Regions from separate parts of the Homo sapiens genome. Here regions 2, 3, 4, 5, 6 and 7 are each linked to region 1. The links are contacts of gene promoters, found by promoter capture Hi-C in blood cells and fetal thymus (Javierre and others, 2016). All regions are on one chromosome and are shown on one strand. Each heading gives the region's core, a stretch centred on a gene start or on the middle of the fragment in contact. The rest is flanking DNA. Distances are from core to core; before and after follow the strand shown.

Region 1 (3,033 bases), core at 361-2,860:
GGGGTTTGCCCGCTGGCTTTAAACAAGTTACTTAACCTAGGTAGGCCTCAAGTTCTTCATCTGCAGAATGGGGTATATAATACCTACTTCAAAGAATTAATAGAAGAGACAACGAATGGAAGGCAAATGGAAAAGTGATTAATCAAGCATCAGTTTCTTGCATCCTGTCTTTATCAACAATGTTGTACTTTCAGAGTTGAACTCAAATGTGAGAGCTTTGTCAAAAAGACCCTCCATCAAATCAGGCTCCATTCCTGGACTCTGTGTGTCTCCGGCCTCCCAAGCTGGGTGTCTGTGACCCCATCCCTGAGACAGCAGAGATCCATCAGAGTTGTAAGTGTGGCCCTGCACCAGAAGGTGGGCAAAGGGCGAGGAAGAGATACACCTTCAATCAGCTCTGCATCTTACTGAGGAGCCACTATGCCTGTGGAGGCCTAAAGACTGCAGTAATCATTGTAATCGTCCATGATATTGTACGTTAGCGTCTTGCTGCAGGAGGGAAAAGCTTAATTCAGGAAGGGTAAGAGAGTGAGAAACCCTGAAGTCACATATTAAAGTGCTTAAGTACCTAACAATCTCTATGCCCTGTAAAACCTTTAAGAATAGGAGCCCAGGCAGGGCGCGGTGGTTCACGCCTGTAATCCCAGCACTTTGGGAGGCTGAGATGGGTGGATCACGTGAGGTCAGGAGTTTGAGACCAGCCTGGCCAACATGGTGAAACCCCGCCTCTACTAAAAATACAAAAATTAGCCGGGTGTGGTGGCACGCACCTGTAATCCCAGCTACTCGGTAGGCTGAGGCACGAGAATCGCTTGAACCTGGGAGGCAGAGGTTGCAGTAAGCTGAGATAGCGCCACTGCACTCCAGCCTGGGCCACAAAGTGAGATTCTGTCTCAAAGGGAAAAAAAAAAAAAAAGAGAATAGGAGCACAGTTAATAGAGACACTGGGCCCCAAGACGACTGAGAACCACTCACGGATGAGAAGTCCTCGGGCTGCTGGCAGAGAATTTACCCCAGGTGCGTGGCCCAGTGGCGGAGGCTTGTGGGAAATTCCTGGTACCCAGCTGCCCAACATCTGGGACGCTGCAACGCCCACCTACCTGCCTGCGCGGCAGAGAAGCAACAGCCGTTCGAGCCACGCTCCACTTCCCGGGAAGAATTCTGGGGAGAGTGAAGGCTCGCTCTGTGGCCGCCCCGCCCACAGCCCGCCTGGGGAAGCCGCGGGCCCCAGCTCACCTGCAGGTTGCTCACGGAGAGCTGCAGCGGGCTCAGGTAGAAATAGGGCACGCCGCTGCCCGCGCCCGGGGGCCCGTCGCTGAGCGAGAGGACGTCGGCGAAGGGCCGGCCGCGCACCGCCTCCAGCGTGGAGATGGTGGCCAGAGCGCCCCAGTCGGAGACGTGCGTCACGAAGCGGGCCACGCGCGCCGCGTCCTCGCGGGGTGGTAGCGGCGGCAGCCGGGAGGCCTCGTCCCAGTCCCCGTGGTCCCGGCCGCCGCGACCCCGCGCGGGCGACACGAGCAGCGCCAACAGCGTCGACGCCAGCAGGGCGGCGAGCAGTGCGCGCGCGGACCCGCGGGATAGCCCGGCCATGGCGGTGTCTCCAGGAAGAGTCCCGGGCCCCAAGACCTGCAGGGACCCAGCCGGAGCTCGGCGCGCCCAGGCCCCGCCCCCTCCGCGAGGCGCCAATCAGAGCTAAGCACAATGCAGGGGGCGGGGTCCCTCTGCAGCTCCGCAACCTGCAGGAGAAGGGATTGGTTCATCTGCATTCCAATCGCTCTGCCTGCCCTCTTTAAGGATTGTGAATTTGTCCTAAACGGGATATTTGTTTTGTTTTGTTTGACAGGCGGAAAAAGAAAGGCTTGAAGAAATCAAGCAACTTGCCCAAATCGTACTGCTAGGAAAAGACCAGCCTCTTTACACAGGCACACACCCCCTCCTTTTAATACCTTTGGAGATGAATATCTGGCATCTGAGAGGAAATGCTGCATTTTCTACCCATGCGCCTCTTTTCTGTTGAATTTACCATCAGCTCCAAAGAACAGCGAGGGTCCCAGCGTTGTAGAAGCCCAGACTCAGGCTCGTGTACCCCATGTGTAGCTGATGCCAAACACTGACATATAGGTGCTTGGAGATAAAAGTTTATTCGATTTGGCCAAAGCGAGAAGGCGGGAGGGCAAGATCTCTCAAATCCGCCCTAACAAAAAGAAGAAGCAGAGAGTGTTTATGCGGCCAGCGAGTCAGGGAGGGGGAGTTTCAGGGAATCGAGGGAAAAAGTCTGTGTTTCTTCAGTCTCAGATAATTCCTTGAACAATCAGACTTCTGGGCGACAGAAGCTGGCCTCAAAGTACTTCAAAGGACTTATTCCTCCTGCAAACTTTTTCGTAACCCTGAAGTTATTATCTCCTCCTGCTTGATAAAGAAACAGTACATCAGCAGTTTATGATTATGTTGTAGGAACAAGGGATATTGGGCAAAAAGAGAGTTGTCAACATGTGCAAGCAAGGGCCTGATCAGAATTTTCATTATTTCAGTCACTAACAAATGCTGGGGTGCTGAAATCTCAAGGGGCCCACTTACACTAGTAGTAAAGTTAGGCAGAAGCCCGAAAGTTCAAGACCTTTAAAAAACTTTTTATTTACTTATTTTAAAATTTTTAATTTTTGTGGGTACATAGTAGGTGTATACATTTATGGGGTACATGAGATATTTTGCTACAGGCATACAATGCATAATAGTCATATCAGGGTAAATGGGGTATCCATTGCCTCAAGCATTTATCCTTTGTGTTACAAACAATCCAATTATACTTTTAGTTATTTTAAATGTACACTTAAATTATTATTGGCTATAGTCACCCTGTTGTGCTATGAAATACTAGGTCTTATTCTAACTATTTTTTGTACCCATTAACCATCCCCACTCCTCCCCTGCAAGTCCCCCCACTACCCTTCCTGGCCTCTGGTAACCATCCCTCTACTCTCTGTCTCCATGAGTTCAATTGTTTCCATTTAGGCTCCCACAAATAAGTGAGGA
Region 2 (3,033 bases), core at 283-2,782, 480 kb before region 1:
TAGTCTACGCACAAGGAACAGCAAGGGAGATTGTGTAGTGGGAGGGAAGTGAGTGAGGAGGAGAGATGAAATGGAAAAGTTGTGGGGGTGGGGGTGGTCTCAGATTGCATAGAGCAATGTAGCCCTTATTTAGGACTTTGTATTTTGCTCTGAATGAAGTGAAAATGCCCTGGAGAGATTTAAGCAGAGAAAATATATTTGACTTACTTTTTTTTTTTTTTTTTTTTGAGAGAGAGTCTCGCTCTGTTGCCAGGCTGGAGTGCAGTGGCTCGATCTTGAATTGCCTCCTCCCGCCAGGTTCAAGTGATTCTCCTGCCTCAGCCTCCCGAGTAGCTGGGATTACAGGCATGCACCACCACGCCCAGCTAATTTTGTATTTTTAGTAGAGATGGGGTTTCACCATGTTGGCCAGGCTGGTCTTGAACTCCTGACCTCAGGTGATCCACCCACCTCAGCCTCCCAAAGTGCTGGGATTACAGGCATGAGCCACCATGCCTGGCCTGACATACATTGTTAAAAGATCATTCTGGCAAATGTGGGGTGAACAGATAGAAGTGGGGTGGGGAACAAGAATGGAAGCAAGGAAATCAGGCAAGAGTTGGCTCAATAGTCCAGATGAGGGCTAATGTCTTAGACACAGGTGATTGTGGGGAGGTGGTGAGAAGTGATCCAAATTGGAATGTATTTAGAAGGTAGGGCCAATGGGATTTGACTGCAGGCTACATTTGGCGTGTTAGAGGAAAACAGGAGTCAGGAATAGACAGAAGGATTTGGCCTCAGCAACTGGAAGAATGGAGTTGTCGTTTACTGAAATGACAACAGTTAAGGAAGGAGGAAGTTTCAGGGGGCAGATCAGGAGTTTGTTTGAGGACTTGCAAAGTTTGAGATGCTCCTTAGACACCCTGGTGGAGGTGGCAATGAGGCAGTTATGTAAGTCTGGAGTGCCACAGAGGCACGGAATGGAGACACAACTTTGGGAGTCACCGGCTCTCCATCAGTTAAGGTCAGAGGATGTTGAGGATCACTAAGGAAGTGCATGAAGACAGGAAAGACATGTGGGACTGAACCCTGGGACACTCCAGTGCTTCATGATGGAGGAAATTAGGAGGAATCAGTAAGGGAGAAGTAGGAAAATCTGGCTAGGGAGACAGGAAGAGAACCAAGAGCAGGAAAAGTTTCTTGAAAGCAAAGGAGGTCAGCTACTCAAATGCTGCTGACATGTTCAACCAGGGACCTGAGGGCAGAGAGATGGTCATTGGATGTGGCCACATGGAGGTGGCCTTGGCATTAGTGGATGCAGTGGGGTGGTGGGGATGGAGCCTGAAAGGAGTGAGTTCAAGAGCTGATGGGACAAGAGGAAGCAGACAGTGTTTGCTGGAAAGGGAAGAGAGCAGGGAGACTGTAGCAGCTAAAGGAGGCTATAGGGTCAAGAGGAGTTTACGCCCTTTTTCCCAAAATATGTGTATGATGATTTAAAAAATAATACTTTTACACTGTTTGTTGATGATGAGAATGAGCCAAGAGAGAATGGGGACAGAAATGATGTCCTTGTAGGGCAAATGGGGCTGGGGGTACGGTGTTATGGGAGGACAGGCCTTAGAAGAGATGCCGGGCTGTCTACCCACTGTAACAGGATGTGGCTAAAGGTGCAAGTGGGCTGGTAGATTTGGTGGTAGAAGGGTGAGCAAGTTCTTACTGAATGTTCCCATGATGAGGCTGCAGCATAAAGAAGGAAAATGTCCTGCTGAAGACCGTCCCCCCGCCCAGCTGGGAAGACTCCACTATCCAGGCAAATTCCAGCTGGATTAACACACTTCTCTTTCAAAATGCAAATCGCTCCTGGGAAACAGGGAAGCATTCGGGTTGTTCATACTTCATTAAGCAGTATTTCATAAGGTGAAAGTCAGCCACCCTCCTGGAATGGGCACTGTACAGTGAGGGCCATGTGAGCTCCTGGGGTGAGTTTATAATATCCGGGAGTATTGGATATTGGGAATGAGAGACAGGAAGATGTCAAAAAAACAGGTTTCCCCTCTTTGGCATTTGCATATTTTCCTCATGGTGATGCCAGTGCCAGAAGCCCCTGAAAATTTGTTCAAATGTTGGCTTCCCAAGTCACTGATGCTGCTCCAGAAGGTGATTCCAAAGTGGCCAAGACTTATCAAATGACCCTCCATGTGACTGGTGTCTTTCCACCACCTTCGTCTATCAGAAAACATTTGCTGGCAGGGCGCAGTGGCTCGTGCCTGTAATCCCAGCACTTTGGGAGGCCGAGGTGGATGGATCACCTGAGGTCAGGAGTTCAAGACCAGCCTGGCCAACATGGTAAAACCCTGCCTCTACTAAAAATACAAAAAATTAGCGACTGTGGTGGTGCATGCCTGTAGTCCCAGCTACTCAGGAGGCTGAGGCAGGAGAATCACTTGAAGCTGGGAGGTAGAGGCTGCAGTGAGCTGAGATTGCACCACTGCACTCCAACCTGGGCAACAGAGCAAGACTCCATTTCCAAAAAAAAAAAAAGAGAAGAAAACACATTAGTCATCATTACTAACAAGTCACCCTTCATCAGAAGGTTACTTGCTTCAATGGAGCCCTCCAGTGCCGTCTGCCCAGCTCCCAGCTATAGCAGACAGCCCATCTAGATATCATTTCTCATATGCCTGGTGTAGTCATGGCAACTGCCACTGATCTTTACTTCACCTCTTCTGTCCTTGCCTGGACCAGGGCATTTTCCCTGGAGCGCTGTCCTCACGGTGACCACTCTTGGGCCTCTCCATGAACTTTACACTGATTCTGTTCTTGTCTATCACCCTGGCCACACACTACACATTAAGGGACTTCTGCCACTGGCAGAACCTAAATGGCCCATGCACAGTTGGTCCCCAAAACTCAAGCAAATTCTATCTGATAGTAACAATTCTCACTCTCAAATCAAAGAGAACCAACCCACTAAGTCATTCCTTTAGACAATGGAGTGTCTAATTACCTGCTCACTCAAGATTAAAGGAATGTTAAGTCAACCATCAATGGATG
Region 3 (3,033 bases), core at 396-2,895, 450 kb before region 1:
AAAAATGATATGTGGATGGCAAATAAGCACATGAAAAGATGCTCAAAATCCTTAATCATTAGGGACACACAAATCAAAACCACAGTGAGTTACCGTTACATTACTATTAAAATATCTGAAATTAAAAAGATTGACGATACCAAATGTTGGTGGAAAATGTAGAGTACTTGGGACAATCTTATATACTGCTGGTGGGAATGTAAAATAGTCCATTTTACAGTTTTTCAGTTTCTTACAAAATTAAACATACATCTACCTAAACATGCACACCTATATCTACATGATCCCATCATTCTACTCCTAGGTATATACTCAAGAGAAATGAAGGCCTATGTCTGCAGGGCACAGTGGCTCATGTCTATAATCCCAGCACTTTGGGAGGCTGAAGCAAGTGGATCACCTGAGGTCAGGAGTTTGAGACCAGCCTGTCCAACAGAGTGAAACCCCATCTTAACTAAAAATACAAAAATTAGCTGGGTGTGGTGGTGGGCACCTGTAAGCCCAGCTACTTAGGCTGAGGCAAAAGAATCACTTGAACCAGAGAGGTGGAGGTTGCAGTGAACCAAGATTGCACCACTGCACTTCAGCCTAGGCAACAGAGTGACAGTCCATCTCAAAAAAGAAAAAAAAAAGCCTATGTCTATGCAAAGACTGGGACATGAATGTTCATAGCAGGTTTATTTGTAATAGCCAAAAACCTAAAAACATCCTAGATGTCCAATGACGAGTGAATGGATAAACACATTGTGTCACATTTACACATAGGAATACTATACAGCAACGAAAAGAAATGAACTATTGATTCATACAACAACATGGATGAATCTCAAAATAATTACACTGCTTGAAAGTCAGACAAAAAAGGGTACATACTATATTATTCCATTTATATAAAATTCTAGAAAATGCAAACCCATCTCTACAGTGGCAGAAAGCAGTTTAATGGTTGCCTGGGGGGCATAGGGCAGGGAGGGGGTGAGAGGGAGGGCTTAAAAAGGGGCACACGGGATGATGTGACCTTGGTTGCAGTGATGGCTTCACGGATGTATACATATGTCAAATCTTGTATATTTTAAATTTGTGCAGTTTGTATATCAATAATAAAGCTGTTTTTTAAAAATATATATATATATAAAAGATAAATAAAACCCTCTTTTAGGAGGCAGTATGATACTGTGGAAAGAAATTAAGTGGTGCAGTGGAGACCAAAATTGAGGTCAGACCTGCCCTCCTACTTATAAACCCTTGAAAGCTTGCTTAAATTACTTAATCAAAAAAATCAGAATACCAGTTTTACCCAGGAGTAGAGAATAAATAATACAACATATATAAAGGTATACTAGGTATTTGATAAATGCTGGTTCTCATACCTTTTCCTTCCAGAAAAAGATATCTGACAACAAAATTTTTTCAGTAACTCATCATGTCAAGAAATTTTTATTTAGCCAGAGTCCCACACACACTGATTAAGACATCATGCTTCTCTAATTCTGCCATGAGCAAATCCTGTATTCTAAGAAGCAGAGTATCACTTACTGATATTTGTCCCCATCCTGAACAGTCCTCCTTGTACTTGATAAGTGCCTGAAATTCCATCCTTCTGGTTTTATGACTTCAGGTAAAGGTTTGAGTCTTTAAGTTAAATTTTAAGTCTTCTTTAAGTTAAATTACGCACCAAGTCAGCAAATACCTCACCACCGGACTCTTAGTCCTTGTACTAGTTTCCTAGGGCTGCCACAGCAAATTACTACAAACTAGGCAGCTTAAAAACAAGAGAAATTTATTTTCTCACATATTGGAAGCCAGAAGTCTGAAATCAAGCTGGTGACAGAGCCACACAGCCTCCAAAGACTCTAGGGAAGACTCCTTCCTTGTCTCTTGCTCGTTTCTGTTGGCTACGGGCGTTTCTTGCATTGTGGCAGCATAATTCCAATCTCTGCCACTCCTTCAAAAGGCCGTCTGCTCTGTCTTCTCTTCTCTTATAAGGACACTTGCCACTGGCTTTAGAGTCCATCCTAATTTAGGGTTATCTCATCTCAAAAGCTTTAACTTAATTACTCCTGCAATGATCCTTTTTCCAAAAAAGATTACATTCCCAGGTTTTGGAAGACATACCATTTTGGAGGGCACCGTTCAACTCACTACAGCCCTATATCCAGCCCCTAGGAAACAGAATTTTACTCTTTCCTGTGGAACTAGAACAGAGCCTTGCAAAACTTCACCCAGTGATCCAAACAGCCACTAGCAGCCAGCCAAAATTAGCAGGGATGTACCCTGCTTGCTGTCCTGGCAGGGAGTCTTAACATTTCAAGTCTCATCTGTAAATCTCATCCTAGGGTGAATTAAGAATCTGAGAAAGGGGTGTAGAAAATGGATGGGGTATCAAATCTTCATTTTTGCCTGAGTTAGGCACTAACTTCAAACACCTTAAATTCAAACCTAGCCACTATGAGTCACTCTCTGGAAGAAAATGGGCGGTTAGAGATTCATCCATCTCACAGCTAGGCAAATTTCCCTAAGTGATTCATGAGTTGACACTGAAATTTAAAACCCCCTGTCAGTGGGGGAGCTTGGTGGGGACTTCTCCCTTACCTATAGTCTCCGTCAGGCCTTCCCAGTCACCTAAACAAATACAGCCTAAGAAGTAAGTGCACAGCCGGGCGCGGTGGCTCACGCCTGTAACCCCAGCCCTTTGGGAGGCCGAGGTAGGCGGATCACAAGGTCAGGAGATCGAGACCATCCTGGCTAACACGGTGAAACCCCGTCTCTACTAAAAATAGAAAAATTAGCCTGGTGTGGTGGTGGGCGCCTGTAATCCCAGCTGCTCAGGAGGCTGAGACAGGTGAATGGCATGAATCGGGAGGCGGAGCTTGCAGTGAGCCGAGATTGGGCCACTGCACTCCAGCCTGGGGGACAGAGCCAGACTCTGTCTTGAAAAAAAAGAAGTAAGTGCGCTTGTAATGCAAACCAACCTCTGCCCGTCCCCCCACCCCCCGTCTCTTCCTTCTTAGCTATTATCATCAGTTTTCTCTT
Region 4 (3,033 bases), core at 380-2,879, 430 kb before region 1:
GCCCATAGGTCCATCCAGCACAATGAGGCTGCCTAGCCACTTACCCTGCCCCAGCCCAGAGAAAGGCCCCTCCATCCACCTGCATTCGGAGGTCTCCAGGCAAGATGCCGCCATGACTGCTTATCCTTTGCCCTCTTGCCAGGACTCTCTTGTCCCTCAAGAAGGCCTCTGGGCCTCCTTTCCTGCCACAGAGTCTTGCCGACTTCACCATCTCATGACATCTGTAGCTACCACAGAACCGGACACTAGGAGCCATTGACAATAATACTGACATGCATATGTAATTACCAACATTGGAAAATGTTCACAATACAGTAAGAAAGAATTAGATTACAAGAGAAGACATGTACAGTGTGCTGCTAATTGAGCAACAGATGTATGTGTATGTGTGTGCATGTTTTTGCATAGACAACAGTTAGGAAATGTGAGAAAATGTGAACAATGTTTCTCTCTGGGAGGTGTTTTTACAAGCAGTTTTTATTTTCTTCTTTAGATTTCCTTTAACTTGTACAGGTTTCCTAAGGTAGACATTGTTTTTATAATCCAAAAACTATTATTTTCTAAAAGTTTATCAGCGGTTTCCAGAACAAAAACAACTCACTCACATCCTATTTCTTTAGGATGCCAGTGCATAATTGCGACCACTTGGTTAATTAGTGAAACAAATTTTTGCTGACTCATCGAATACTTAATGAGATGTTTTCCCAGTGTAATTATCCAGATATCCAGAAGCAAAGGAGGAAATTTGGCCTCAGGGGAGGGAATAGGGAAAACAGCTTTGAACAGTGGGTCTTATCTTCACCAAGGAGTAATCAGTTGCCTAGAACTTGATCCTCAGAGCTGGGCACCAAGTCTTAAGTGATCTTTAAATAGATCTTCAGATACAGAAGCATTCATCTTACGGTCACTAAGAACCCAGGCATCGCCAGGTATCCTCAGCTAAAAGCTTTTGTTCCTTCTCGGACAACCTGTCCTCAGGGCCTCTTCAAACTAAGCTGCACTTATTCAGCTACAGCAAAAAGAGCTCTGAACTAGAAATCTAAAACACTAGTTCTTGTTGTCTTTTTCTCCTTTCACAATCTTGGGAAGTTATAAGAGCTCTCAGATTGAGTTTTATAATCTTCAAATGGGAATAAAACTAGAGTTCCTGTCTACTTCTTAAGTTTATTGTTAGGATAACATAAAATAATGCATGTGAAAGGATTTTGACAATTATAGCATGCCATATTAATGTGGAATACACTTAATTTTATTATTTGTGCCTACCACTTTTGTGCCTTGATGAATGTCCATTCCCAAGGCATGGGGTTTTAAACTAGAAGTCTCTGGATCATTCAAATGTTTCCTTACACATCATTTTGTTGGCCTCTTCATCTCGCCCTTCCTTGCCTAACTGCATGTCTTTTCTCCCTTTTGCTGAGGCCAAGTCATCAACTCTTTCTATAATGGTATTTGCAGTGATCCCCAGACAACCAGGGGCAGAAAAGGAGGCACTTGCCCAGCTGTGGCCCTAGACTGGCTGAGGCAGGCTCACCGTCACAGTGGTGACACACCTTTCTAGTTCCGACTCTTGCAAACAGGTCCCTGCCTCTTCCCGCAGGAGTGTGGCTGTGAACAAGGGGAGGCTGAAGAGGCTGGGAATCACCCACATTCTGAATGCTGCGCATGGCACCGGCGTTTACACTGGCCCCGAATTCTACACTGGCCTGGAGATCCAGTACCTGGGTGTAGAGGTGGATGACTTTCCTGAGGTGGACATTTCCCAGCATTTCCGGAAGGCGTCTGAGTTCCTGGATGAGGCGCTGCTGACTTACAGAGGTGAGAGGGATCTGCCGCTCCAGGCTGCTGGAATTCCACGGGGGAAAAGTAATGTGGGGAATGTTATGAAAACCTGATTAGTTGGCGTGTGTGAGGGGTATCTGTCTTAAGAAGGCTGTTTTCTCTAAGAAAAGGAGAAAAGACAGGATAATCATTCATCCAGTAAGTAATTACTGAGTGCCTAGCAAGTGCCAACTACTATTCTAGGCACTGTGGTGAAAGACACAGGCAACGCTTCCAGCCTTTGACTGTTACACTGTAAGAGGGGACAGAAAATGAAAAAAAGAGAAAAAAATGTCAGATGGTGATAAGTGTGAGGCAGAGACTAACTAGAACAATGTGCTAGAGTGACTGACTAGCTCCTTGGAGAGCATGGGGGAGGAGGCCTTCTGACAATGGGACATTTAAGCCAAGTGACAAAGGGCTAGCCATGGGAGAACTGGAAGAAGAGCATTCCTGCAGAAGAGAACTAGTAGTGCAAAGATCCAAAGGTGGAAAGCTTGGTGTGTTCAGGAATCAAAGGCCAGTGTCGATGAGCATGGTGGATGAAGGTTGAAGTGGCAGAGGTTCCCCATCAAACAGGAAGCTAAAAGCCAGGGTAAGAAGTTGGAGCGGCACCTTGATCTGATTTATGTTTTGGAAAACTCCCTCCCTCCACCTTGGAGAACAGACCGAGTTGGGAAGGTAGAGAGTAGTGCTTTGGGGTTGCTATTGCTATATCCAAGTGAAAGGTGACATGAGACTAGTCTGCAGAGGTCACAGGCCTCAGGGAGGAGAGGTGGAGCCCAGGCAATGGGGCCGACAGCCTGGCTGGGAAGAGTTGAGGATATGGTGTCCAGAAACCTGGGTTTGAGTCCAGGATTTGCTACACTGTATATACAATGTGACCTTGGGCCATTTCCTTTAGCCCTAGGAACTGCAGAGAACAAAGACAAAAATATCAAATCCTAAAGTTGCTGTGAGGAATAACGTTTTAAAAATGCATATAAAATAACTCCCTTGGGACAACACCTGGCACAATAAATGCTTTAAAAATTATAGCCATTGCTATAATAATATTGTTAATGATTTCCTGGAAAGGGCATTGCCTGTCACCACCAATGGCCAGGTTGGGTAACTTCTAAGGGAAAATACAAGCACACATATTTTCTTTTTTTTAATTATTTTTACTTTTTATTTTTAGAGACAGGATGCAGCTCTGTTGCCCAGGCTGCT
Region 5 (3,033 bases), core at 365-2,864, 410 kb before region 1:
TGTATTATTTGGATAAAAATTAAAATTAAATTTTATTCCTAGTGTGCTAAGCGTTTTTTTAATGGAGTTTTCTTGTGATATCTTTGTCTGGTTTTAGTATTAGGGTAATATTGACCTCATAGAATAAATTGGGAAGTGTTCCTTCCTCTTCTGTTTTTAGGAAGAGTTTGTGAGGGATTGGTATTAATTCTTCTCTAAACTTTGGTTCAACAGTGAAACCATGTGGCCTGGGATTTTTGTGTGGGGGGGAGTTTTTAAATTACTACTTCCATCTTTAGTTTTTATAGATTTATTCAGGATTTCTATTTCTTCTTGAGTCAGTAGTTTGTGTCTTTCTAGGAATTTGTCCGTTTCATATATGATATCAATTTTTTTTTTTTGAGATGGAGTCTTGCTCTGTCACCCAGGCTGGAGTGCAGTGGCGCCATCTTGGCTCACTGCAACCTCTGCCTCCCGGGTTCTAACGATTCTCCTGCCTCAGGCTCCTGAGTAGCTGGGATTACAGGCGCATGCCACCATACCCGGCTAATTTTTGTAGTTTTAGTAGAGACGGGGTTTCACCATCGAACTCCTTTTTTTTTGGAGACGGAGTCTCTCTCTGTTGACCAGGCTGGAGTGCAGTGGTGCAATCTTGGCTCACTGCAAGCTCCGCCTCCTGGCTTCACGCCATTCCCCTGCCTCAGCCTCCCGAGTAGCTGGGACTACAGGTGCCCGCCACCACGCCCGGCTAATTTTTGTATTTTTAGTAGAGACGGGTTTCACCTTGTTAGTCAGGATTCTCTCAATCTCCTGACCTTGTGATCCGCCCGCCTCAGCCTCCCAAAGTGCTGGGATTACAGCCCTGAGCCACCGCACCCGGCCATGATATCAAATTTGTTGGCATGCAGTTATTTGTAATATACTTTTATGATCCTTTTAATTTTTGCAAGGTTGGTAATGATGTTTTTGTTTTCTTTCTTTTTTTTTTTTTTTTTTTTTTTTTTGAGACAGAGTCTCACTCTTTCACCTAGACTAGAGTGCAATGGCACAATCTCAGCTCACTGCAACTTCTGTCTCCCGGGTTCAAGAGATTCTCCTGCCTCAGCCTCCCGAGTAGCTGGGATTACAGGTGTACGCCACCATGCCCAGCTAATTTTTTGTATTTTTAGTAGAGACGGGCTTCACCGTATTGGCCAGGCCAGTCTCTAACTCCTGACCTCAAGTGATCCGCCCGCCTAGGCCTCCCAAAGTGCTGGGATTACAGCTACCACGCCCGGCCTCTTTTTTTTTTCATTCCTGATTTTAGTAATTTCTGTCTTCTCTCTTTTTTTTTCTTGGTAAGTTCAATTAAAGATTTGTCACCTTTGTTGAACATTTCCAAGAACCAACTTTTTACTGATATTCTCGATTGCTTTTCCATTCCATTTCATTTATATCTACTCTAATCTTTATTTCTTCCCTTCTTGCTTTGTATTTATTTCGTACTTTTTTTCCGTTTCTTTTACTTTTATGTGGTTGTTTTTTTTAGAGAGAAGGTCTGTCTCTGTCACTCAGGCTGGACTGCATTGGCACGATCATGGCTCACTGCAGCCTCAAACTCTTAGGCTTAAGTGATCCTCCCACCTCAGCCTCCCAAGTAGCTAAAGCTACAGGCACACACCACCACACCTGGCTAATTTTTTAATTTTTTATAGAGATGAGGTCTCACTACATTGCCCATCTAGGAGATGTCCGATGTGCCCTTGAGAAGAATGTGCATTGTGCTTTTGTAGGGTGTAGTGTCCATTAGGTCTAATGGGTTTATAATGTTGTTCATTTCTTTTTTTGTTTTGTTCTTGTTTTTGAGAAAGGGTCTCACTCTGTCATCTGGGCTGAAGTGCAGTGGCACAGTCGCGGCTTACTGCAGCTTCAACCTTCCAGGCTCAAGCGATTCTCCTGCCTCAGCCCCCTCTTCCCCTCACCTGGTAGCTGGGTCTATAGGCACACGCCACCATGCCTAGCTGATTTTTGTATTTTTTGTAGAGACAGGTTTTCACCATGTTGCCATATTTCATTATATATAAATAATATTTTTATTATCAGCAGCACTTTCAAATGGCCATTTTTTATTTTGGTCTACTTTTAGACCTACAGAAAAGTTGCAAAAAAAGTAATAAAGACTTCCTTTATGTCCCCCACTCTTATTCTAACATGTTTTATGGCCATAGTGCAATTATCAAAATAGTCAAATAGCCTTTTTTCCTCCTTCAATTTTTTTGTTGTGGTAAAATATACATGACATAGTCTGGGAGCATTGTCTAATGTCTATAATCCCAGCACTTTGGGAGGCTTAGGTGAGAGGATCACTTGAGCCGAGGAGTTCAAGACCAGCCTGGGAGATATAGTGAGACCTCATCTCTACAAAAAAGTAAACAAATTTAGCCAGGTGTGGTGGCACGCTCCTGAACTCCCAGCTATTTGGGAGACTGAGGTGGAAGAATCGCTTGAGCCCAGGAGGTGGAGGCTGGAGTAATGAGCCAAGATCACGCAACTGCACTCCAGCCTAGGCAATAGAATGAAACTCTGTCTCAAAAAAAAAAAAAAAAAAAAAAGAAAAAGAAAAAGAAAGAAAGAAAGAAAGAGAAAACACAGCATAGAATCTATAATCGTGACCATTTTAAGTGTACAGTTAAGTGATGTTAAATATATTCATAAAGTTGTACAATCATCACCACTACCCATCCCTGGAACTTTTTCATCTTGTAAAAGTCAAGCTCTATACCCCTTAAACAGTGACTCTTTCTTATCCCTTCTTTCCTGCCCCTGGAAACCACCATTCTGCTTTCTGTCTCTTTGATTTTTACTACTCTATGTGCCTCATATAAGTGGAATTATATAATATTTGTTTTCTTGTGACTGGCTTATTTCACTGAGCAAAACGTCCTCAAAGTTCATCCATGTGTTGTAGCATATGTCAGAATTCCCTTCCTTTTTAAGGCTAAATAATACTCTGCTTCATGTATATACCACATTTTGACCTAATTTATGACCTAACCTACGGTTTATCCTGGAAAA
Region 6 (3,033 bases), core at 330-2,829, 390 kb before region 1:
TTACAATGTTGGGTTGCAGTGTGCATATAAGTTTTAAAATAACAACAAAAGGTCTAGGATTAGGAAAAAAACAATAGAAATAAATGCATCTGTTTATATTTTTAATTTATATAATATCCTTTAATAGAAAAATAATTTTAATTTTTTAAAAAAGTGACTGCACTTCCCTATTGACTTATAACTTGGGAAACACATTAGTCTTGATTACATTTTGCCTTACATTATTCTTTTGTTGGTTTATCTCCCCAGCCTCTGCTTTAAGAATCTTCTCTGCAGTATTTTAACCTTCAAAAGCAATTGAACTCCTCAGTTGTGGTGCTTTTTTTTTTCAGACGGAGTCTGTCTGTGTTCCCCAGGCTGGAGTGCAGTGGCACGATCTTGGCTCACTAAAACCTCCGCCTCCTGAGTTCAAGTGATTCTCCTGCCTCAGCCTCCTGAGTAGCTGGGATTACAGGCGCCCACCACCACACCTGGCTGATTTTTGTATTTTTAGCAGAGATAAGGTTTCACCATGTTGGCCAAGGCTGGTCTCAAACTCCTGACCTCAGGTGATCCACCTGCCTCTGTCTCCCAAAGTGCTGGGATTACAGGTGTGAGCCACCGTGCCCAGCCATGGTGCATTATTATTTTATCAACCCAGTGAAGAGCCCCTCTCTACATTCCTGATCCTCATTTCTACCCAACCTCCAGGTCCCCATATGCATTACTTGTCTGGCAATACATGTGCACCCTCCCTCACTGCATATGTATTGCTGATCCATGTGCAAACATGCTTCCAGTGTGCATGAAGGCTCAGTGCCATCCTATGCCAACCATCTCCTACTTTGCTCATCCAATGCCTTATTTTCAGGATTTTTCCCATCACCAAACCCTTGTTGTTTCCTATCTCAAAGAATAGTGAGGCATCTCAAACCCCTTACACAGACTGTGAAGTATTTGGAATGAAATTTATGAGTGACCTCCACCCTGAGATTACACACTGCTACCAGGCCTGTAGAATGTTTTCTAAAGCTTTATTGCAATATATTTTACATAGTACAAAATTCACCTATTTAAATGGTGCAATTCAGTGGTTATGTGCACACTGCAACCCCACATTATAACCCACTTTTTAAAGTTCATGTTATAAGAAGCATTTATTCATGTTATTACACATTCTTAATAAACATCACATTAATCTGATGACTTTTTGATTATATGTGTTGTTAGAGGGGAACAGATTCAAAATGGTAATAAAGAGTCATCTTCACAAAGAGCTGGGCACACTTTGATTAATATACTCCAAGGTTGTACAACTATCACCATTAGGTAATTCCAGAATATTTTCATCACCCCCAAAAGGAACTCTAAACCCATCAGCTGTTATTCCCCATTTATCTCTCCTCCCAAACCTTGGCAACCACTTTTACTCCCTGTCTCACTGAATTTGCATACTTTGGACATTTCACATACGTGGAATCATACAATATGTTGTCATTTATAACTAGCTTCTTTCACTTAGCATAAGGTTTTCAAATTTCACCCACAATGTAGTATTTCATTTAGTATTTTATTCCTCTTCCTGTCAGAATAATCTTCCATTACATGAATATACCATATTTTGTTTATCCACTGGGCTTGTAGAATTTAAAACAGCATCACTTTTAGTACCTAAAGCATAGTCAATTTCTGTCACGTAATTAAGATAATTATGTCTTTTTAAAAATAATAATAATTTAGGTATCTTAGCAAATGAAGAGAAAAAGGAAGAGAAGATATTTAGGAAAAACATAGGAAATTTCTATATTTTTCTATTCTTTCAGAAAAACAGAATTCTATGCAAGCTAGAAATGTTTTCTCACTTTTTCCCTGTGCCTACACATCTCTATACACCTTCCTAATCCTGAAAACCCAGAACACAGCTTTATGCTGGCTTGGTACTGAATACCCAGTAAGTGTTGAATAGGAAGGAAGAAAAGAAGGAAGGAAGGAGATTTTAAAAAGAATGGATATTATTTAAAAAAGGAAACACTTGGAAAAAATTATTTCCACCTTGCTCTTTCTTCTCCCCGAAGCCTCCCCCAATCTCCACCTTGCTAGTCTTCCTTTTTGCGATGCAAATGGTTGAGCAGACAGTAGTGGGGAGAGCTGCAGGAGAGGTCAGCGGTTAAGCTTAATTACAAGTAAATACAATTTCTCTGGGGTTGCTGTGGAAAGGAGAGCAGATAAGATCAGCGAAAAGTACTTGGAGGGCCTTGGAAGACAGCCCCTCTGCAAATATAGGATTGGCTTTTATTGTTGTTGCTGCTAATAAAACAGATGTTCTCAAAGCATTCCTCCAACCAGTGAGAGGGCTGGGGAAATCGCTATGTCTTTACTGGTTGCTGAAACCAAATAAAAATCAAATTAAAGTTTAATTCACCTCATAATTTTCTTCATGGCAGGTCTGCTCAGCAGCCTTGAGGCAGCGCCAATGTCCTCCTCCACTGTGGCGTACATCACCCTCAGCCCGGGGACCCCAGAGGTCAGCTGCACATTTCCCTCGTGGGTGTTTGCAGCTGAAGAAAAGGCCCAGGCTAAGACGAAAGGGTGTTGGGAGCTGCTGGAAGATACCAGAAAGGCCTTCCCTCCTCTTCCCGTCTCCAGGGTCTCCATGGCAACGGGGGGAAAGCTGCTAGGTATTCCAGCTATGTGACCCGGGCCATGTATATTACCCAGCCTCCTGAGGGGTGCCAGACCATAAACACTGAGCCGCCTGCAACCACAGATGTCATGCTCCCTCCTATGCTCCTCATACCCAGGACAGTGTCTGTGATAAGGAGGGCTCGAGTAACATTTCATGCACCCATGCAATAAAGTTTCCTATTCAGTTAATATGAGTGAGGGAATGAACAAATGAAATAATTTTTTCCAAGTGTTTCCTTTTTAAATAATATCCATTCTTTTTAAAATCTCCTTCCTTCCTTCTTTTCTTCCTTCCTATTCTTTGACACACAAATAATGTAAAACTTCCCAGGGCACTGTTCCAACTCTAACAGATGATTCCCCACGTGC
Region 7 (3,033 bases), core at 278-2,777, 390 kb after region 1:
TGTTTTTTTTCATATTGTTACAACTGTTGGTGTTGAACTGGTAGAGTACGCACTAATGAGTCTCAGCTTGAGGTTTGGAAAATTGTTCTAGATGGTGTGTAGTTCTTGTAATTTAATGTTGCTTCAGGTTTAAGGTGGGCAGGCTTCCCCAAGTACTTGAAGGAGATTAAAAAAATTTTTTTTTAAACACTGCTGATGGCTCCACAGGGAAAATGTAAATAGTGAAACTTCATGTACATCTTGGACAAAATAACTAGGGTCGAACACTTTTAAATAGATATCTATTGTGGGATTGCTGACTTGTATGGTAAGTATGTTTAACTTTATAAAAAACTTCCAGACTGTCTTCCAAAGTAATTCTACCATACTGCATTCCCACCAGCAGTATATGAGAGTTCCAATTGCTCCACATTCTCATCAGCATTTGGTGTAGTGAGTCTTCCTAATTGTAGCCTTCATGGTAGGCGTGTAGAAATATATCATTGTTTTAATTTGCATTTCTCTTTTTTTGTTTTTGAGACGGAGTTTCGCTCTTGTCGCCCAGGCTGGAGTGCAATGGCATGATCTTGGCTTACCGCAACCTCTGCCTGCTGGGTTCAAGAGATTCTCCTGCCTCAGCCTGCCAAGTAGCTGGGATATGGGCATGCGCCACCATGCCCAGCTAATGTTGTATTTTTAGTAGACATGGGGTTTTGCCATGTTGGTCAGGCTGGTCTCGAACTCCTGACCTCAGGTGATTGACCTGCTTCGGCCTCCCAAAGTGCTGGGATTACAAGCATGAGCCGCTGCGCCTGGCCTTTAATTTGCATTTCTCTAGTGGTTAATGATGTTGAGTATCTTTTGTGGCTTTTGTTTTTGTCATCCATATAGTCTGGTTAAATGTTCAGGTTTACCTTTTTAATATTGTAAGAATTCTATAATTCTTTATATAACAGTCCTTAATCAGATATGTACTTTACAAATATTTTCTGTCAGTTTATGTCTTTTTCTTAACAGGTTCTTTTATAGTTCATACTTTTTATGTCCTATCTAAGAATCTTTACCTAATCCAAGGTAACAAAGATTTTTACTTTTTTTTTCCTGGAGATTTTATCTTTTTACCTCTTACATTTAGGTCTGTGAACAATTTCGAGTTAAGTTTTACATATGTTGTAAGAGTCAAGTTTCATTTCTTTGCATATTAATGTGCAATTGATCTAACAGTGTGTGGAAAGACTACTTTTTTCCCTTTGTTGAAAATCAATTGACCATAAATGTTTAAGTCAATTTCCTAGCCACATTCCATTGATCTAGCTTCATGTCTTTATACCGAGGATTGAAATCAGCTAGTGTGATACTTTAAACTTGGTCTTTTTTTTGAGACAGAGTCTTGCTCTGTCACCCAGGCTGGAGTGCAGTGGCTCGATCTTGGCTCACTACAAGCTCCGCCTCCTGGGTTCACACCATTCTCCTGCCTCAGCCTCCCGAGTAGCTGGGACTACAGGCACCCGCCACCACGCCCGGCTAATTTTTTTGTATTTTTTTAGTAGAGATGGGGTTTCACCGCGTTAGCCAGGATGGTCTCGATCTCCTGACCTTGTGATCTGCCCGCCTTGGCCTACCAAAGTGCTGGGATTACAGGCGTGAGCCACCGCGCCTGGCCGAAATTTGGTCTTTTTTAAAAAAATTTATAGTTATCCTGGCTATTCTGAACCCTTTCTATTTCCATAAAAATTTTAGAACTAGCTTGTCAATTTCTACAAAAAGACTTGGGATTTTGTGTTGAATCTATATATTATTTCAGGGAGAACTGACATGTTTACAATATGAATCTTCTCATCTGTGGTTCTGGTTTGTCTCCGTGTATTAAGCATTCTTTGATTCTCTCAGCAGTGATTTGTATTTTTTGGTGTTAGGTTTATCCTTAAATATTTCATATTTGTAATGCTATTTTAGATGATATTTTTATTTATTTTTACTTTTTATTTGTACAAATTTATGGGTACATATGCAGTTTTGTTACATGCATAGATTATGCTGCAGTCAAGTGAGGGCTTTTAAGGTATCCATCACCTGAATAACGTTCTTTGTCCTCATTAACGAATTTCTCATCATCCTCCCACCTCCTCATTCTTCCACTCCATTATGTATCATTCCACTCTGCATCTGTGTGAACACGTTTGTTTAGAACACACTTATGAGTCAGAACATCATACTTGTCTTTGTGTGCCTGGTTTGTTTAACCTAAGATAATGACCTCTAGTTCCATCCACGTTGCTGTATATGTCATGATTTCATTCATTTTTTTTTTGAGATGGAGTCTCACTCTGTCGCCCAGGCTGTAGTGCAGTGGTGAGATCTCGGCTTACTGCAAGTTCCGCCTCCGAGGTTCACGCCATTCTCCTGCCTCAGCCTCCCAAGTAGTTGGGACTACAGGTGCCCGCCACCACACCTGACTAACTTTTTTTTTGTATTTTCAGTAGAGACAGGGTTTCACAGTGTTAGCCAGGATGGCCTCGATCCCCCGACCTTGTGATCTGCCCGCCTCGGCCTCCCAAAGTGCTGGGATCACAGGGGTGAGCCACCACGCCCAGCCTGATTTCATTCTTTGTTATGGCTGAATAGTATTCCATTGTGTATATATACCACATTTTCTTTACCTGTTCATCCATTGATGGACACTTAGGTTGATTCCATATCTTTGCTGTTGTGAATAGTGCTGCAGTAAACATACTGGTGCACATATCTTTTAGATATATTAATTTCTTTTCTTTTTGTAAAAATCTAGTAGTGGGATTGCTAGATGGAAAGATAGTTCTATTTTTAATTCTTGGAGAAATCTCCATACTGTTTTCCATAGAGGCTGTACTAATTTACATTCCCACCAATGGTATATAAGAGTTCCCTTTTTTTCACATGATAACCAACATTGTCTGTCTTTTTAATAAAAGACATTCTGACTAGGATAAGGTGATATCTCATTGTGAATTTGATTTGCATTTCTCTTATGACTGGTAATGTTGAGCATTTTTTCATATACCTGTTGGGTGTATG

Evidence for each region. The method cuts DNA at HindIII sites, captures the fragments that hold promoters and counts their contacts. A CHiCAGO score of 5 or more calls a contact.
Region 2: a fragment that was not itself captured here is called in contact with the fragment with the promoter of CREG1 in region 1 in 11 of 17 cell types (fetal thymus, total CD4 T cells, total B cells and 8 more); the score reaches 14.5 in fetal thymus.
Region 3: a contact is called between a fragment that was not itself captured here and the fragment with the promoter of CREG1 in region 1, in 8 of 17 cell types (fetal thymus, total CD4 T cells, total B cells and 5 more). The highest score is 7.9, in fetal thymus.
Region 4: a contact is called between a fragment that was not itself captured here and the fragment with the promoter of CREG1 in region 1, in 8 of 17 cell types (naive CD4 T cells, fetal thymus, total CD4 T cells and 5 more). The highest score is 12.1, in naive CD4 T cells.
Region 5: a fragment that was not itself captured here is called in contact with the fragment with the promoter of CREG1 in region 1 in 1 of 17 cell types (non-activated CD4 T cells); the score reaches 5.6 in non-activated CD4 T cells.
Region 6: a contact is called between a fragment that was not itself captured here and the fragment with the promoter of CREG1 in region 1, in 1 of 17 cell types (total CD4 T cells). The highest score is 5.8, in total CD4 T cells.
Region 7: a fragment that was not itself captured here is called in contact with the fragment with the promoter of CREG1 in region 1 in 1 of 17 cell types (neutrophils); the score reaches 5.7 in neutrophils.

The regions. Positions count from the first base shown.
Region 1 is chr1:167,552,152-167,555,184 of GRCh38, forward strand. CREG1 (cellular repressor of E1A stimulated genes 1) reads right to left here and starts at 1,611. Exons shown (of 4, transcript NM_003851.3): 1 at 1,237-1,611. The coding sequence starts at 1,590. RefSeq lists a silencer at 1,300-1,749. The HindIII fragment of the contact is 3,087 bases long and covers 504-3,033 here.
Region 2 is chr1:167,074,700-167,077,732 of GRCh38, forward strand. The region is part of intron 1 of GPA33 (glycoprotein A33); the gene reads right to left. Among named protein-coding and RNA genes, the nearest start is that of GPA33, 14 kb to the right of the region's middle. The HindIII fragment of the contact is 9,307 bases long and covers 1-3,033 here.
Region 3 is chr1:167,101,186-167,104,218 of GRCh38, forward strand. The region is part of intron 2 of STYXL2 (serine/threonine/tyrosine interacting like 2); the gene reads left to right. Among named protein-coding and RNA genes, the nearest start is that of STYXL2, 8.6 kb to the left of the region's middle. RefSeq lists a silencer at 2,427-2,721. The HindIII fragment of the contact is 791 bases long and covers 1,251-2,041 here.
Region 4 is chr1:167,117,649-167,120,681 of GRCh38, forward strand. It overlaps STYXL2 (serine/threonine/tyrosine interacting like 2), which reads left to right. Exons shown (of 6, transcript NM_001080426.3): 5 at 1,601-1,818. Among named protein-coding and RNA genes, the nearest start is that of STYXL2, 25 kb to the left of the region's middle. The HindIII fragment of the contact is 1,371 bases long and covers 945-2,315 here.
Region 5 is chr1:167,142,359-167,145,391 of GRCh38, forward strand. No RefSeq gene overlaps it. Among named protein-coding and RNA genes, the nearest start is that of STYXL2, 50 kb to the left of the region's middle. The HindIII fragment of the contact is 6,442 bases long and covers 1-3,033 here.
Region 6 is chr1:167,163,882-167,166,914 of GRCh38, forward strand. LOC105371601 (a long non-coding RNA gene) reads left to right here and starts at 2,719. Exons shown (of 3, transcript XR_922250.3): 1 at 2,719-3,033. The HindIII fragment of the contact is 1,140 bases long and covers 1,010-2,149 here.
Region 7 is chr1:167,941,567-167,944,599 of GRCh38, forward strand. All of the region lies in intron 1 of DCAF6 (DDB1 and CUL4 associated factor 6), which reads left to right. Among named protein-coding and RNA genes, the nearest start is that of MPC2, 6.0 kb to the left of the region's middle. The HindIII fragment of the contact is 3,401 bases long and covers 1-3,033 here.